Linked DNA regions of Homo sapiens: regions 1 and 2 are each linked to region 3. Evidence: promoter capture Hi-C in 16 types of primary human blood cells and fetal thymus (Javierre and others, 2016). All regions are on one chromosome and are shown on one strand. The core of a region is centred on a gene start or on the middle of the fragment in contact, and the rest is flanking DNA. Distances in the headings are between cores, read along the strand shown. Region 1 overlaps C14orf93 (chromosome 14 open reading frame 93). Region 2 overlaps LOC105370406 (a long non-coding RNA gene). Region 3 holds the start of CEBPE (CCAAT enhancer binding protein epsilon).

Region 1 (3,662 bases), core at 412-2,911, 130 kb before region 3:
TTGAGCTTTTCCAGAAGAAACTTCACTACTGAAATATTCCAAGAGGACTTGATGCTGCCACAAAGAGAAGAGAATGAATAAAGTTGTCGGCTTTGTAAGAGCCAGACAAACAGAGATACCCAGCACTAATCAACTTTGTGGCAAATCCCTCCACAGCCTAAGAAGGTATGGTGAGATCAAAGCCTTAGTCTCATTGCTGTATTGGAGCATCCCCCTCTACTTCCCTGTCCTTAGCAAAGTACCTTCTAATTCTTTTTCCTCAAGGAGACCATACCTTTCAGACCCATTGAATCTCTTGTCATTGGTGATGTGGTTATGCACATTGTGGACCAGTTTCTAGGAGGAAAAAAAGAAAACACAATCAAGCCAAGAGTGGATGTTATGAAAACTCTCCTCTGGTCCCTAGGGTAAAAAGGTATTGTCCCTAAGGGGCTCTCTGCCTGAATCCTTTCTAAGCCAAGAGCCTATCCAAGTTACTATTTCTAGTGTGGTCTTCCCTGACTTTTCATTTCATGTGTGTCAGGATTCCAGGATCATCCCTGGCCTTACTTCTGCTCCTGAGTAGTGTGATCACTGGAGCAGAGGGTCTCAAACATTTCCATGAACATACCCCTGATAGCAACGAGAAAGCAAGTATACACCAGGAGTACTGCGAGTGAACATTTCTTTTTTACTTTTCTTTCTTTTTTTTTTTTTGAGATGGAGTCTTGCTCTGTCGCCCAGGCTAGAGTGCAGTGGCGCGATCTCGGCTCACTGCAACCTCTGCCTCCCGGGTTCAAGCGATTCTCCCGCCTCAGCCTCTCGAGTAGCTCAGAGTACGGGCACCTGCCATCATGCCTGGCTAATTTTTGTATTTTTGTAGAGACGGGGTTTCACCATGTTGGCCAGGCTGGTCTTAAACTCCTGATCTCAGGTGATCTGCCCGCCTTGACCTTCCAAAGTGGTGGGATTACAGGCATGAGCCACCACGCCCAGCCAAGTGAACATTTCCTGAAGTCCCCTTCTCTTGCACTTTTTTTTCTTTCCTTTTCTTTTTTTTTTTTTTGAGACGGAGTCTCGTTATGTCGCCCAGGCTGGAGTGCAGTGGCACGATCTTGGCTCACTGCAAGCTCTGCCTCTCGGGTTCACGCCATTCTCCTCCCTCAGCTTCCTGAGTAGCTGGGACTACAGGTGCCTGCCACCACGTCCGGCTAATTTTTTGTATTTTTAGTAGAGACGGGGTTTCACCGTGTTAGCCAGGATGGTCACAATCTCCTGACCTCATGATCTGCCCGCCTCGGCCTCCCAAAGTGCTGGGATTACAGGTGTAAGCCACTGCGCCCGGCCCCTACTCTTGCACATTTAAATTTTTTCTTCAAAATGTATTTGTATTTCTTTTCTTTTTTTTTTTCTTTCTGAGACAGAGTTTCACTCTGTCACCCAGGCTGGAGTGCACTCATTAAAAAGTTTTGCCAGCCGGGCGCGGTGGCTCATGCCTGTAATCCCAGTACTTTGGGAGGCCAAGGCAGGTGGTGCCATCTCAGCTCACTGCATCCTCCGCCTCCCGGGTTCAAGCAATTCTCCTGCCTCAGCCTCCTGAGTAGCTGGGACTACAGGTGCACCACCACCACATCCAGCTAATTTTTGTATTTTTAGTAGAGATGGGGTTTCACCATGTTGGTCAGGCTGGTCTCGAACTCCTAACCTTGTGATCTACCCACCTCAGCCTCCCAAAGTGTGCTGGGATTACAGGTGTGAGCCACCGCACCGGGCCTGTTTAATATAAAAATGTCTTCTGCAATTTTTCTTTTTTCTTTTTGAGACAGAGTCTCACTCTGTTGCCAGGCTGGAGTGCAATGGCGGGATCTCGGCTCACTGCAACCTCCACCTCCCGGGTTCAAGCAATTCTCCTGCCTCAGCCTCCCGAGTAGCTGGGACTACAGGTGCACCACCACCACATCCAGCTAATTTTTGTATTTTTAGTAGAGATGGGGTTTCACCATGTTGGCCAGGATGGTCTTGATCTCTTGACCTCGTGAACCACCTGCCTCAGCCTCCCAAAGTGCTGGGATTACAGGCATGAGCCACCGTGCCTGGCCATCTTCTGGAATCTGCTAGTAAAACTGATGACCCAGGCAAAAGCCCCGGGTTTGTCTGTGGCTTTATGTATTTCTTCATGTGTTACCACAAATCTCTGGAGTATATACACCATGGTCTGAAAAACAGAAATCTAAAATAACAGAAACGTGAATCGGAAAAGACCGTGGAGGCTATATTATATTACCCAATCTCCCTTTCACATCATTAAACAGGCTGTCTTTCCACTTTGTTTATACCCATCTAATGATGAGTTCTCCATTCTGAGTCAGCTTATTCTATTGTTGAACATTTCTACTCATTAAAAAGTTTTGCCGGCTGGGCGTGGTGGCTCATGCCTGTAATCCCAGTACTTTGGGAGGCCAAGGCGGGTGGATCACCTGAGGTCAGGAGCTCGAGACCAGCCTGACCAACATGGTGAAACCTCATCTCTACTAAAAATACAAAAATTAGCCAGGCGTGGTGGCGTGCGACTGTAGTCCCAGCTACTCAGGAGGCTGAGACAGAGGAATTGCTTGAACCCAGGAGGCGGAGGTTGCAGTGAGCTGAGATCGTGCCACTGCACTCCAGCCTGGGCAATAAAGTGAGACTCTGTTTCAAAAAAAAAAAAAAAAGAAAGAAAAAGTTTTGCCTTAGATGCTTCAAAATCTGTTCCCAGTTTTGCCCATAATAGCACCTAAAATATTTATTTATTTATTTATTTATTTATTTTTATTTTTTATTTTTTTGAGATGGAGTCTTACTCTGTAGCCCAGGCTGGGGTGCAGTGGCGTGATCTCGGCTCACTGCAACCTCTGCCTCCAGGGTCCTGGTTCAAGCAATTCTCCTGGCTCAGCCTCCCTAGTTAGCTGGGATTACAGGAATGCACCACCATTCCCAGCTAATTTTTGTATTTTTGGTAGAGATGGGGTTTCACCATGTTGGCCAGGCTGGTCTTGAACTCCTGACCTCGTGATCCACCCACCTCGGCTTCCCAAAGTGCTGGGATTACAGGCATGAGCCACCACGCCCAGCTTTATTTATTTATTAAGAGACAGAGTCTTGCTCTGTTGTCCAGGCTAGAGTGCAGTGGTGTGGTCTCAGCTCACTGCAACCTCCGCCTCCCAGGTTCAAGTGATTCTCCTACCTCAGCCTCTCAAGTGGCTGGGATTACAGGCGCACGCCACCACGCCCAGCTAATTTTTGTATCTTTAGTAGAGACGTGGTTTCACCATGTTGGCCAGGCTAGTCTCAAACTCCTGACCTCAGGTGATCTGCCCGCCTTGGCCTCCCAGAGTGCTGGGATTACAGGCGTGAGCCACCGCACCCGGCCCTAATGCAGGGTTTTAACATGTCCTTCAATTAAGTTTAGTTGTTTCTGATTGTATTTTCATCCCAAGCTCCCTCAGTCAGTGGAAGTTACCCAGTCCCAAACTGACAGATTAATATCCTGATCCAAGGACTTTTCAGCTCCATATTCAGAAATCCCCAATTTATCCTTCTACCTCTATGGCTGATTCACCATACCAACTTAGGAAAGTATTGTCAACTCTTTATGGCTAGGGTCTCCACTCTGTAAAAAGGACCATTATTATACTAGCTGCATA
Region 2 (3,983 bases), core at 34-2,533, 90 kb after region 3:
GAGTGATGGTGTGTGCCTGTAGTTCTAGCTACCTGGAAGATTGGAGCTGGAGAATAACTTGAGCCCAGGAGTTCAAGACTGCAATGAGCTATGATCACACTGCACTCTAGAATGGGTGACAGAGTGAGATCCTATCTCTAAAAAAAATGACATAGGAGTCAATCTGAAAGTGCTCTTCCATGGCCAAAGCTGGAATAATTTGAGCAACAAAATAAGTAGCACAGTATTGTTACAGGAAAGGGGCCCAGACCCAGACCCCAAGAGAGAGTTCTTGGATCTCACTCAAGAAAGAACTCAGGGTGAGTCTGCAGTGCAAAGTGAAAGCAAGTTTATTAAGAAAGTAAAGGAATAAAAGAATGGCTACTTCACAGACAGAGCAGTCCCAAGGGCTGCTGGTTGCCGTTTTTTTTTTTTTTTTTTTGAGACGGAGTCTCACTCTGTCGCCCAGGCTGGAGTGCAATGGCGCGATCTCAGGTCACTGCAAGCTCTGCCTCCCAGGTTCACGCCATTCTCCTGACTCAGCCCCCTGAGTAGTTGGGACTACAGGTGCCCGCCACTACGCCTGGCTAATTTTTTGTATTTTTAGTAGAGACGGGGTTTCATCGTGTTAGCCGGGATGGTCTCGATCTCCTGACCTCGTGATCCGCCCGCCTTGGCCTCCCAGAGTGCTGGGATTACAGGCGTGAGCCACCGTGCCCGGCCTGGTTGCCCATGTTTATGGTTATGTATTGATGATATGCTAAACAAGGGGTGGATTATTCATGCCTCCCCTTTTTAGACCATATAAGATAACTTCCTGACGTTGCCATGGCATTTGTAAACTGTCATGGTGCTGGTGGGAGTGTAGCAGTAAGGACGACCAGAGGTCACTCTCGTAGCCATTTTGGTTTTGGTGGGTTTTGGCCGGTTCCTTTACCGCAACCTGTTTTACCAGCAAGGTCTTTATGACCTGTATTTTGTGCTGACCTATCTCATCCTGTGACTTAGAATGCCTTAACCATCTGGGAATGCAGCTCAGTAGGTTTCAGCCTCATTTTACCCAGCTCCTATTTAAGATGGAGTTGCTCTGGTTCACACACCTCTGACAGTATTAGATTATAATCCAATGTATAAAATGTGTAAAAGTATCTAATATTAGATATCCAATGTATAAAATATACATGCCTCCATACTGATATAAACAAATGATTGACTAAAAGACTAAATGGTGGAGTGGAAACAAATCTTTACAGAATACTTTGACTTCCAAATTTTAAATAATATATGTAGATACTTTTTCTTGCAGGAGGTAATGCTTAACCACTTTGAGGGTAGGCTGGATTGAGGGACTCTCTTTCAAAGAATAGATGGAAAGGGAAAAATAGTAACTTTACAGTGGAGAAACCTGGCAACCACTCTCTTAAACAACAACTCAAAATTAATATCATCAGTTAGATATATGGATATCATGTACCCCTGATACAACATGATGACAGGGCACTTTGCCTCTGTGATTCTTTTAAAACATCTATGACTGGCCCAGTGAGGTGACTCAAACCTGTAATCACAGCACTTTGGGAGGCCGAGGTGGGCTGATCACTTGAAGCCAGGAGTTTGAGACCAGCCTGGCCAACATGATGAAACCCTGTCTCTGTTAAAAATACAAAAATTAGCTGGCATGATGTGTGTGCCTGTAATCCCAGCTACTGGGGAGGCTGAGGCAGGAAAATTGCTTGAACCTGGAAGGTGGAGGTTGCAGGGAGCCAAGATTGCACCACTGCACTCCGCCTGGGCAATAGAGTGAGACTGTCTCAAAACACGAACAAACAAAATAAACAAATACCCCTATGACTAAGTTGAATCATGATACAAGCATCAGACAAGCCCAAACTGAGGGACATTCTACAAAACACATGACCCATTTTCCTTAAAACCGTCAAGCTCATGAAACACAATGAAAGATTGAGAAACCGTCTCTGACCAGAGAATGCTAATGAGACATGACAATGAAACGCAGTGCGGTATATAGGCTTGGACTGTAGAACAGAGAAAGGATATTAGTAGGAAAATGAGATTTGAACAAAGTCTGGAGTTTAGTTAATTATAATGTGCCAATGTTGGTTTCTCAGTTTTGACAAATATCACATAGAAATGTAGGATGGGGTGGGCGTGGTGGCTCACGCCTATAATCCCAGAACTTTGGGAGGCTGAGGCGGGTGGATCACGAGGTCAGGAGTTTGAGACCAGTCTTGCCAACATAGTGAAACCCCGTCTCTACTAAAAATGCAAAAAATTAGCTGGGTGTGGTGGTGTGAGCCTGTAATCCCAGCTACTCAGGAGGCTGAGGCAGGAGAATTGCATGAGCCCAGGAGGTGGAGGTTGCAGTGAGCCAGGATCACGCCATTGCCCTCCAGTCCAGGTGACAGTGTGAGACTCTGTCTCAAAAAAAAAAAAAAAAAAAGAAATGTAGGATGATAACATTAGGGAAAACTGAAACTGGGTGAAGGATATCCAGGAACTCTCTGTACTACCTTTGCAAACTTTCCTGTAAATCTAAAATTATTCCAAAATAAAAAGCTATTTTACAAAAAGATAATGAATAAGATAATGTTATAAACAGTGTTAAAGCAACAAATTCACTTTGGGAGGCCAAGGTGGACAGATCACGAGGTCAGGACTTCGAGACCAGACTGGCCAACATAGTGAAACCCCGTCTCTACTGAAAATAAAAAAATTAGCTGGTCGTGATGGCGTACGCCTGTAATCCCAGCTACCTGGGAGGCTGAGGCAGGAGAATTGCTTGAATCTGGGAGGTGAAAGTTGTGGTGAGCTGAGATTGCACCACTGCCCTCCAGCCTGGGCAACAGAGTGAGACTCTGTCTCAAAAAAAAAAAGAAAGAAAAAGCAACAAATTGAACAACTTAGATAAAAATGGACGAACTCCTTGAAAGACATAAACTACTAAAACACAGGCAAGATGAATAGATAACCTAAATATCTCTATACCTATTAATATAATTGAATTTGTAGCTAAAAATCTTCCCACAAAGAAAACTCCAGGCTTAGATGGCTTCACTGGTAAGTTCTACCAAACATTTAAGAAAAAAATAATGCCAATTCTACACAAATACTCCCCAAAAGTTAAAGAGAAAGGAATAGTTCCCCAATGATTCTTAGAGGTCAGCATTATTCAGATACCAAAATCATACAAAGATCGTACCAGAAAACTAAAGACCAGTTCCTCTCACGAACATAAATGCAGCAAATAAAATCAAACAATGCATAAAAAGGATAATACGTCATGAACAAATTTATCCCAGGAACACATAATTGATTTAACATTCAAAAACAATGTAATTCACCATAGAGACACACTTAAAAAATAAAAATTAGTATTATTATTTTTGAGACAGAGTCTCCCACTGTCACCCAAGCTGGAGTGCAGTGGTGCAAACTTGGCTCACTGAAACCTCTGCCTCCAGGATTCAAGCATTTCTCTCGCCTCAGTCTCCCAAGTAGCGAGGACTACAGGCACATGCCACCATACCTGGCTAATTTTTTTGTACTATTTTTAGTAGAGACAGGGTTTTGCCATGTTGGCCAGGCTGGTCTTGAAGTCCTGACCTCAAGTTATCTGCCCTCCTCAGCCTCCCAAAGTGCTGGGATTACAGGCATGAGCCACCGTGCCTGACCAAAAAAGAAAAATTATATTAACAGATACAGCAAAAGCATTTAACACAATCCAATATCCAATCCTGACTTTAAAAAAATCTCAACAAATTAGAAATAGAAGGGAACATCCTTGAAAGGGCACTTAGGAGAAAATTGTAGCCAGCCTTATACATAATGGTGAAATACTGAATGCTTTTTCCCTATGATCAAGACTAACACAAGGATGTCTGCCTTCACCACTTCTCTTCAACATTATGCCGATGGCTATGGCCACTGCAGTTAGGCAAGAAAAAATAAAGGTATACAAACTGGAAAGGAAGAAGGAAAACTGT
Region 3 (3,557 bases), core at 1,058-3,557:
CCTGGGCATGAAGGACTGTGTGGTGCCGGGATCTCCCTACAAGCTGAAGATCTTTGTTAGCAGAGCATACAAAGGTGCTCCAGGTCCTGTGGGGGGCGGGGATGTGCCTTCAGCTCACAGAAGGGGGTGATGGGGGATGTCAGGGAGAGAAGAGCAGAGTGACAGATACACGGCCTGGCTGTGTGGTATATTGGGGGTGGGCTGTGGACAGCATGTCTGTGTTTCCACATGTCCACTTGGTCATGGAAACAAGAGGTGCAGACCTAGCCACATGCATCCTCTGTCCCCAGGGTCCTCCATGACACACACACACACACACACACACACACACACACACACACAGCCAACAGTCCCAACACCCAGTCACAGTGCAACTTTATTCAGCCATATAATCATTATGCTGGGTCCTGCCCTCTTTGCCACCCCGGTTGCCATTTATCCATGGTCTATGTCTCAGGGTTCTAGGCCCCCAGCAGGATGGGGGTCCGCAGAGTTAGGCCGTGCCAGGGAGCCTGGTGCCCACAATCCACCAGCCAGCCTCAGCTGCAACCCCCCACGCCCTTGATGAGGTTGGCCGCCTCAGGAATCTGGCGGAAGAGGTTGCGGAGGGTGTCTAGCTCCTGGGTGAGCTGCTCCACGCGGCTGCGGAGGCGCTCGTTCTCTGCCATGTACTCCAGCACCTTCTGCTGCGTCTCCAGAATGCGCCTCTTGGCCTTGTCTCGGCTCTTGCGCACGGCGATGTTGTTGCGCTCCCGCCTCAGCCGGTACTCAAGGCTATCTTTGTTCACTGCCTTCTTGCCCTTGTGTAAGGGGCCAGCCGGGGAGGGCGCCTTCAGGAGGGGACTGCAGGGGGGTGCGGCAGTGGCCAAAGGGGCCTGGAGGGGAAGGCACGGAGAGACGGAGAGGTGAGGGCTGGCCAGGAGGCAGAGCGGAGGCGGGGCGGGAATCTCGGCAGCCAGGGCACACTTGATGCGTCAAAGGAATACAGGACTCAGAGCCAGCTCCTGTCTCTCAGGTCAAAACTATCATCGCTCTGCTTCTGGGAGATGGTGACCCAGATGCACAGGGTCCTCTGCTTGAGACCAAAACTCCCTTTCATGTTCTCACACTTTCTTTCTTTCTTTTTTTGTAAAGATGGAGCCTTGCTATGTTGTCCAGGCTGGTCTCCAACCCCTGGCCTTAAGCGAACCTCCTGCTTTGGCCTCCCAAAGCGCTGGGATTACAGGCATGAGCCACGACACCCAGCCAATGCTCTCACACTTTCTGAGTACACTTTCCCTCAATCTGCCTTGAGTCTCCCGTTCTATGACCAGTAGACATTTCTCACAGAAGCAGGCGGCAGAGAAACAAGAGGAGGGGGCATGGTGAGCAGCAGAGAGGCTGGCGGTGGGGGCCTGAGATCAAGTAGGTCAGCTTGCCACAGGGGCTTTGGGTGGGGATTCAGGGTGGGAATGAATTCACAGAGAAGGAAAGGGAGGTCATGGTGGGGTGTGAACACAGAGGACTGTGGGTTGGGTCCATTTCACAGAGCGACACCAAGCACAGGCTCAGCAGCATGAGCCGGGGCACAGGGTCCTGTCCACACCAGCCTCTCCAGCCCCGGGCAGGAGGGAGGAGGGCTGGCCTGCTCTTACCTTGAGAACGCGCAGAGGCTGGCCGGGTGCTGCCAGAGTTGGGGGCAGGTGCATGGCTGTCTGCCCACAGTGTGCCACTTGGTACTGCAGGGGATTGTAGCTGCCTCGGCTGGCAGCTCGGCTGCCCTCTGGCCCCCGGGGCTCCTCCTTCACCGCCACAGCCCTGGGGTCGTAGCTCCCTGGGCTGCTGTAGATGCCAGGCCCCAGCGCCTTCCTGTCTGGGCCGAAGGTATGTGGAGGGTAGGCAAAGGGCCGAGGGTCAGGCGGCAAGTAGTGGGGGAAGGCAGGGGTTCCGGGGCCCTTGAGGCCTCTGGCCTCAGGCGCTGGCTTCACGGCAAAGAGATCGGAGAGAAGCTGCTCTTCCCCAGACTCGATGTAGGCGGAGAGGTCAATGGAGGCCTCATGCTCACACATGTCCCCTAGCTCCCCGGGCCCAGCTCGGCCCCCTGAGAACTCGAGTGGCTGCTGGCCACCCCGGGGCTCACACTCGTAGTAGGTCCCGTGGGACATGGCCGGCCCGCCCCCTCGGCTCCCCGCCCCCACCTGCTCTTGAGGCACCCCTTGGGGTGCTCCGGCTGCCCTCTCTCTACCTCCTCCTGACCTGGGCCTGCCCTCTCTCGATCTTCTGCCCTAGACCTGCCCTCTGCAGTCTCCTCTGTCACCCACTCCTGTGTGGCCTCTCTCCCCCCTCTGCTCTGCTTCCTTTTCCTTCCTCTGTAGTCAATGCCTCTCTTCTCTTCCCTTTTTTCCCCTCTCTCCCCTTGGGGTGACTCAGGGAGGGGCAGGACACACCCCAGAGGGAGAGATGTAAGCCTTAGAGAAAGGCGACTCCTGGCCTATTCAGCAGTTGGGGACACTCCTTGGTCAGGGACCAAGCCAGGGTTCTGGAGATGCCCGAAGCTGATGCTTCTGGGAATGCCTCTCCACTCCCTGCTGGGAGGCCAGGGGACTCCAAATCCTCGCAGAGGGCAACACCCCACTCTGAGCAACCTCCTCCCTCCGACTTTGAAAAAGTTCTATGCAGAATGAGGTTCCAAGTTAGAGTGAAGAGAGAAAGCCCTCTTCCAGTGCCTACCCTCAGTTGGGTCTCACCTCCTCCCTTGACACGCCTTCCTCTGGCTCTCCCCTGCTGCTGGGCTCCACCTACCCCCAAGAGAAAGTTTCTTTTGTAGCCCCACCTCCCAGAGCATTCTCTGAGTGTAGGCCAGGGTTTGTTTTTTGAGGGGTCTAGGGAGTAGTGATAGGTCCTAGGAACAAGCTCTACACGCGAGCCTGCGTGGTGCTCCAGAGCATGCTCATTTGCTAGGTTTTTGCACAGGAGCTGTGCAATAGCCCACATGTTAGTGCGTTTCCAGCCCTAGCTACCTCTAGCAGCCTGGTACACTTCCTAACTCCCTGGGCTTGGCCAAAGCACCTGGTCAGGACTTGGGCCTTGCACCGCAGGCCTAGGCAGGTTGCTGCCCTCGGAGTAGACAGCCATAATCCTCCGGTGGCTCCAGCACTTCTCTCTTCCAGCTGCTCTGTGCTGCAAGAGGCTCAGGCTGGTGCTTCGCCCCTCACCCTGGGCCTGAGGCTCTGCCTCTGGTTTCCTGTGCCTGGGCTGCAGGGCTTAGGAGCTTGCTGCAGCTCGTTTGCTGTCTTTCCTTTTGCATGGCCGCTCTCTGATCTCCAATGCGTGTCTCTTGGGTCTACTTCCTCTTGTGAGGTTTGAGAAGCCTCTTATGTCATCACCTCTTCCTGGGGCTCTGTTTTAGGGTCTCCAGGAGAAGCCCATGGCTCCCTCTCTGCAATTCTTTGTTCTGTGCTGGCTCTCCTCTTCCCTTTTCTCTTTCCTTTGGGAACTCCCCACTACCTCCTTTCAGAGACACCTGCTCTGGTACTGCTTTTACCTGTTGAATTTCATCTCCAAAAGGGATTGTAGGT

The links. The method cuts DNA at HindIII sites, captures the fragments that hold promoters and counts their contacts. A CHiCAGO score of 5 or more calls a contact.
Region 1: a contact is called between a fragment that was not itself captured here and the fragment with the promoter of CEBPE in region 3, in 2 of 17 cell types (M0 macrophages and M2 macrophages). The highest score is 6.4, in M0 macrophages.
Region 2: a contact is called between a fragment that was not itself captured here and the fragment with the promoter of CEBPE in region 3, in 1 of 17 cell types (M0 macrophages). The highest score is 5.0, in M0 macrophages.

Annotation. Positions count from the first base shown.
Region 1 is chr14:22,989,792-22,993,453 of GRCh38, forward strand. C14orf93 (chromosome 14 open reading frame 93) reads right to left here. Exons shown (of 7, transcript NM_021944.4): 4 at 275-336; 5 at 1-54. It overlaps AJUBA-DT (AJUBA divergent transcript), which reads left to right. Exons shown (of 3, transcript XR_007064074.1): 2 at 1-415. Among named protein-coding and RNA genes, the nearest start is that of AJUBA-DT, 7.3 kb to the left of the region's middle. The HindIII fragment of the contact is 4,277 bases long and covers 1-3,662 here.
Region 2 is chr14:23,208,356-23,212,338 of GRCh38, forward strand. All of the region lies in intron 1 of LOC105370406 (a long non-coding RNA gene), which reads right to left. It also overlaps a transcript of RNF212B not described here. Among named protein-coding and RNA genes, the nearest start is that of SLC7A8, 27 kb to the left of the region's middle. The HindIII fragment of the contact is 8,966 bases long and covers 1-3,983 here.
Region 3 is chr14:23,116,948-23,120,504 of GRCh38, forward strand. It overlaps CEBPE (CCAAT enhancer binding protein epsilon), which reads right to left and starts at 2,308. Exons shown (of 2, transcript NM_001805.4): 1 at 1,635-2,308; 2 at 359-875. The coding sequence starts at 2,144. The coding sequence ends at 540. RefSeq lists enhancers at 2,947-3,026, 3,107-3,557. The HindIII fragment of the contact is 9,723 bases long and covers 1-3,557 here.